Regions from separate parts of the Homo sapiens genome. Here region 1 is linked to region 2. Evidence: promoter capture Hi-C in human tissues and cell types (Jung and others, 2019). All regions are on one chromosome and are shown on one strand. Each heading gives the region's core, a stretch centred on a gene start or on the middle of the fragment in contact. The rest is flanking DNA. Distances are from core to core; before and after follow the strand shown. Region 1 overlaps WDR33 (WD repeat domain 33). Region 2 holds the start of LIMS2 (LIM zinc finger domain containing 2).

Evidence for each region. The method cuts DNA at HindIII sites, captures the fragments that hold promoters and counts their contacts. A contact is called where the count stands out against the background at its distance.
Region 1: a contact is called between a fragment that was not itself captured here and the fragment with the promoter of LIMS2 in region 2, in 2 of the 25 tissues and cell types used here (aorta and pancreas).

The regions. Positions count from the first base shown.
Region 1 is chr2:127,799,451-127,802,358 of GRCh38, reverse strand. The region is part of intron 1 of WDR33 (WD repeat domain 33); the gene reads left to right. Among named protein-coding and RNA genes, the nearest start is that of WDR33, 10 kb to the left of the region's middle. The HindIII fragment of the contact is 5,125 bases long and covers 1-2,908 here.
Region 2 is chr2:127,674,223-127,676,936 of GRCh38, reverse strand. It overlaps LIMS2 (LIM zinc finger domain containing 2), which reads left to right and starts at 1,407. Exons shown (of 10, transcript NM_001161403.3): 1 at 1,407-1,923. The coding sequence starts at 1,913. The HindIII fragment of the contact is 18,801 bases long and covers 1-2,714 here.

The DNA.
Region 1 (2,908 bases), core at 32-2,531, 130 kb before region 2:
AGAAAAAGTAGTTAAGTCTTGCTTCTGTCTCTGAGCTCTGGAGTTCATTCCAGTTTTTACTGTGTATATTCTTATTTTCACATTCTTAGAAGAAAGTTGGCATGCTGTATATGCTTGTGACACTTGATTTTTTTTTTTATAAATTGTGATAAATGCATAGCAAAATTTTACTGTCTTAATTTTTTTTTTTTGAGTCGGAGTCTTGCTCTCTCCTCCAGGCTGGAGTGCAGTGGCGTGATCTCAGCTCACTCCTGGGTTCAAGTGATTCTCCTGCCTCAGCCTCCTGAGTAGCTGGGACTACAGGTGCATGCCACCACACCTGGCTAATTTTTGTATTTTTAGTAGAGACGGGGTTTTACCATGTTGGCCAGGGTGGTCTGGAATTCCTGACCTCAAGTGATCTGCCTGCCTCAGCCTCCCAAAGTGCTGGGATTACAAGCAGGAGCCACTGTGCCTGGCCTTAACCATTTTTTTTGAGATGGAGTCTCACTGTATCACCCAGGCAGGAGTGCAGTGGCACGATCTCGGCTCACTGCAGCATCCGTCTCCTGGGTTCAAACAATTATCCTGCCTCAGTCTCCCGAGTAGCTGGCACTACAGGTGTGCACCACCACGCCCAGCTAATTTTTTGTATTTTTAGTAGAGATGGGATTTCACCATGTTGGCTAGGCTGGTCTTGAACTCCTAACCTCAAGTGATGCACATGCCTCCGCTCCACAAAGTCCTGAGATAGGCATGAACCACTGCACCTGGCTCATAATGTAATTCTGTTTTTAACATTTTTGAAGAACCTCTATACTGTTTTTCATAGTGATTGTACTGTTTTTTTTTTTTTTGTTGTGTGTTTTTTGTTTGTTTGTTTGTTTTTTAGAGACAGAGTCTCACTGTGTTGCTCAGGCTGGTCTTCGCCTCAAAGTGATCCTCCCACCATGGCCTCCCAAAGTGCTAGGATTACAGGTGTGAGCCACCATGCCCAGCCTCATTGTACCATTTTACAGTCAGTACACAATGGTTCCAATTTCTTCATGTTCTTACCAACAGTTATTATTTTCTGTGTCTGTGTGTGTTTTTCCTCTGAGAAAAGGTCTCCTTCTGTTACCCCTGCTGGAGTACAGTGGTATAATCATAGCTCACTGTGCCTCAACGTCCCGGGCTCAAGCAAACCTCCTGCCTTAGCCTCCCGAGCGGCTGGGACAACAGGTGTATGTCACCATGCCTGGCTAATTTTGTTTTTCTTTTCTTTTTTTTTTTTTTCCTAGAGACAGGGTCTCACTATGTTGTCTGTCCTGGCTGGTCTCAAACTCCTGGGCTCCATCTTCCCACTTCGGCTTCCTGAAGTGCTGAGATTACAATAGGCATGAGCCACTATGCCCATCCTAAAGTTTTACAGCCCAATAATAGTAATATTCCATCACTACAGCTATCATTGAGTTTCAGAAGTTAGACTGTTAAAAGTTTCAGTAAAGAGCTTTAACCAGTTTATTGTGGCAATACTGTGTACACAATTATTTTTTGTAAAAGGAAGGAGATTTCTGTCTTAAATAGCTTTAATAAAGTTTCAGTTTCATATACAGGAATAGATTTAAATTAAAACTCAGGGCCAAGTACAGTTTACAGAAATAGGCTTTGTAAAGTCTATGGTTTTATTATTATTTTTTTCCCTCTGCAATTCCTTCATAACATTTGAATTTTTTTGCTTGTTGGTTTTTTTTTTTTTTTTTTGAGACGGAGTCTCATTATGTTGCCCAGGCTGGAGTGCAGTGATGCGATCTCAGCTCACTGCAAGCTCCGACTCCTGGGTTCATGCCATTCTCCTGCCTCAGCCTCTCGAGTAGTTGGGACTACAGGCGCCCTCCACCACGCCTGGCTAATTTTTTTGAATTTTTTTAACAGAGACGGGGTTTCACCATGTTAGCCAGGATGGTCTTGATCTCCTGACCTCATGATCCGCCTGCCGCGGCCTCCCAAAGTGCTGGGAGTACAGGCATGAGCCACTGCGCCCAGGCTTGCTTCTTGTTTTTAAGGAGAAAGATTATTTTTGTTAAGTGTTGATGGTGATTTGGGATCAGAAGCTGTAATTTTTATGATTCAGTTGATGGACATTAGGATTGTTTTCACTTTTTGATTATTATTAATAACGCTGCTGTAAACATTCACGTACAAATATTTGTGTGGACATAATGCTTTCAGTTCCCTTGGGAATTTACCTAGGCGTAGAATTGCTGGGTCACATGGTATTTTGACATTTAACATTTGAGGAAATTCTTGACTATTTTCCCACCTAATTTTCAGTTTATTTTATGCCTAACAACCACTATTCTTTTGTAATCCAGATGGACTTCTCATGAGGGTTACTGTTTCTCCACATTCTCACTAACACTTCTTATTTTCCCTCTTTTTGACCATAGCCATCCCAGTGGATGTGAAGTGTTATCTAATTGTGGTATTCATTTATTTATATATTTTAGAGACGGGGTCTCACTCTGTTGCCCAGGCAGGAGTGCAGGTGTGATCACAGTGCACTGCAGCCTCGAACTCTTGGGCTCAAGCAGTCCTCCTGCCTGAACTCCAGCAGGAGGTGGTTCGAGTAGCTGGAACCACTGTTCCTGGTGCTCATCGTGGTTTTGTTTTGCATTTTTCTATTGATGCGATTCTCCTGCTTCAGCCTCCTGAGTAGCTGGGATTACAGGTGCCTGCCACCATGTCCGGCTAATTTTTGTATTTTTAGTAGATATGGGGTTTCGCCATGTTGCGCAGGCTGGTCTTAAACTCCTGACCCCAAGTGATCCACCTGCCTTGGCCTCCCAAAGTGCTGGGATTACAGGCGTGAGCCACCGTGTCCAGCCTGTATATCTTCTTTGGAGAAATAACTATTCACATTCTTTGCCCATTTAAGAAATTGGGTTAT
Region 2 (2,714 bases), core at 158-2,657:
TCCTCTGTGGAGAGCATGGGCCTCTGGTGTAATGCTTTCAACTTTTCATCCTCTTTGGTTCCCACAAGACCCTGATATTCAATTAACCGTCCAGCAGTGGATTTCTGGTGCACGGCCCCAGCATGCCTACACCTCTGTGTCAGTAATGGTGGAAAGCCTTTCTCCCTGTATGAGCAGGTGAGCCAAGAAATTATCCATACTTAAGCTTAATCAACCATCAAATTACAGTTAAGCCGAATCAGCTGAGACACGCTCGCAACAAGAAGTAATAACTCGAGACAGTCGGATCACCTGAGGCCAGGAGTTTGCAACCAGCCTGACCAACATGGTGAAACCCATCTCTATCAAAAATACAAAATTAGCTGGGTGTGGTGGCATATGCTTGTAATCCCAGCTACTTGGGAGGCTGAGGCAGGAGAATCGCTTGAACCTGGGAGGCGGAGGTTGCAGTGAGCGGAGATTGCACCATTGCACTCCAGCCTGGGCAATAAGAGCGAAACTCCGTCTCAAAAAAAAAAAAAAAAAAAAAGTAACAACTGCAAAGGCACTCCACAATACCAGCCACTTAGGAACAGGTGTCTTTTCCCAGCTTATTTCTGCAGGTGGAACTGCAGGATACTATCAACTCATCTTTCTGAACGGCACCAGTTTATTTGTGGGTTGCTAATTCACACCGTCATTTCTAGATCATCTTTCTCTGCTGCCAAGACCGGAGTAGCACCACATTTACACATCAGGCCGCCCAGCTCCCAAACCTCAGTGTGACATCTGGGCTGCTTCCAAAGATGAGCTGCACGCCACTGTCCAGCTGGAAATATCTGCCTTTAGGCAGGGCGGGGGTTTTTTGTTTTGTTTGTTTGAAAATTTCCTCCGAAGAGATTCCCTAAATAGTTTATATTACCCCTCCATCTTAACGCCTCTAATGGTAGCTTCTCAGCGCTTCATTATACAGAGGCGTGCCTGGTTCCCCTGGAAACCTGGGAGCTGGGCATTTGGTTTTGTCGTTTAAGAAATATCTTTCGCCAAGTTAGGGCGATGGCCCGCAACGGGGGATGAAATCGGAATTTCCCGGGGAAAGCAGCTTTGCGACTGAAGAGGGACGCCTCTCGGCTTTAGCCTCCCTGGGGGCGGGACTGCGTGGACTCGGCGGTCCCGGGTGCCTCGGGAGGGAGTCAGTGCCCAGATCCGCGGTGGGAACTCCGGGCTAGGAAAGCCCGGGAGGGAGGTGGTCTCAGCATCGCCCCCACGCCTACCATCTCCTGCACGCGTTTGCGGTTGGGGCGGCCCAGGGACTGCAGAGGGGGCGCCGGGCGGGGCGTCCCGGCGGGGCTGTGGGGGTGGGGGTGCTTGTTCGCGTTTATTATAACTTTACTCCCTTTAAAAGGAAAGCTATGCCCGGAATCCAGGAGGTGGCGAGCAGAGCCCGGGTTGGGAAGGACTTGACCCGCGCCCGCCGCTGGCCGCGCTCCGTGTCCCTGGAGCTGGGGCTGTGCGGGAGCGGGGCCCACCCTCTACCTTTACCCCTACTTTTACCCCCACTCCCACCCCCGCCTCACTCTCACCCCTCCAACCCCACCGTCAGCCCCACCTTTAACCCCCACCCCTCCAACCCTACCCGCCGCCACCCCCACCTGCCACCCCCACCCCCACCTATACTCCCGCAACCTCCCACCGTCACCTCCCCAACACCCCCACCACCCTCAGCCTTGACCTCCCCATCCCACCCCGCCCCGCGGGCCCCACCCTGCCACCCCCGCCCACCCCTCTCGCGGGCGGAGCGGCTCTTGGCCTTTTTTGGGCGTCTCCCTGCTCCGCGGCCCGGGCTGGCGGGCGGGCGCTCGGCTGGCGGCTGCAGCAGCAGAGGGAGACCCGCGGCAACCCCGGCAACCCAGGGCTCGGCGTCGCTGCCACCATGACGGGAAGGTAACGGCCCCCACCCACGCCCCCGGGCCGGGGAGGCGGGACTGCGGGACCCCTGGCCGAGGCGCAGCTCGCCCTCGTACAGCCCCGCGGCGCCACGATCCCCGCTCCGCCCTGGCGCGTCGGATTCTCGCAGCTGCCGGGGCGGCAGCGCCCGTCGGGGCAGGGGTCCCCCAGCCCCCGCGCCTCTTCCTCTGGGCGAGCGCCTGCAGCGGAAGGTGGAGCTCCTGCCCACCCGCCCGCTGCAAGATGGGACAGCCGTCTGCTCACAACCGACGCCCAGGGCTGCGGGAGGGGGTCTTGTCCAAGGTCAGACACCAACCACGGGCAAAAGGTTCAAAGGTTGCGTGCCTCCCCCAACTTCCCCGAGCCCGCGCTGTGCGATCCCCGATCCCGGTGAGTGTCATCTCTGGAGCCTTCCGTTTCCTCCTCTGTAAACCTGGGGTGGTAAAAATGTTAAAAATGTTGAAGGGTATGTTGGAACTTGGCCAGAGCTGCGCCCAAGCACCAGCTGTGCAGGGGTTGGTTGGGGACAGGGCGCTCCCCTGGGCCTGGCCCACCCTCTGCTCTCAGGCCCCTCGTTGCCATTTCACAGATGAGGTCACCAGAGGCCACAGAGGCTGAGCCACTCAGGAGGCCAGTCACAGGTCCACCAGTGTCCGGCCAGTGTTTGTCCCTGCAGCCCTTTCTGGAACCTAGCTGGGTACAAGTGCATGACTCAGGACTGGGTGGGAGGGGGCTGTCCCTGAGGCCCTGGTCTCCCCCAGCCAAGTCCTGGCAGGGGGATGCTGTTC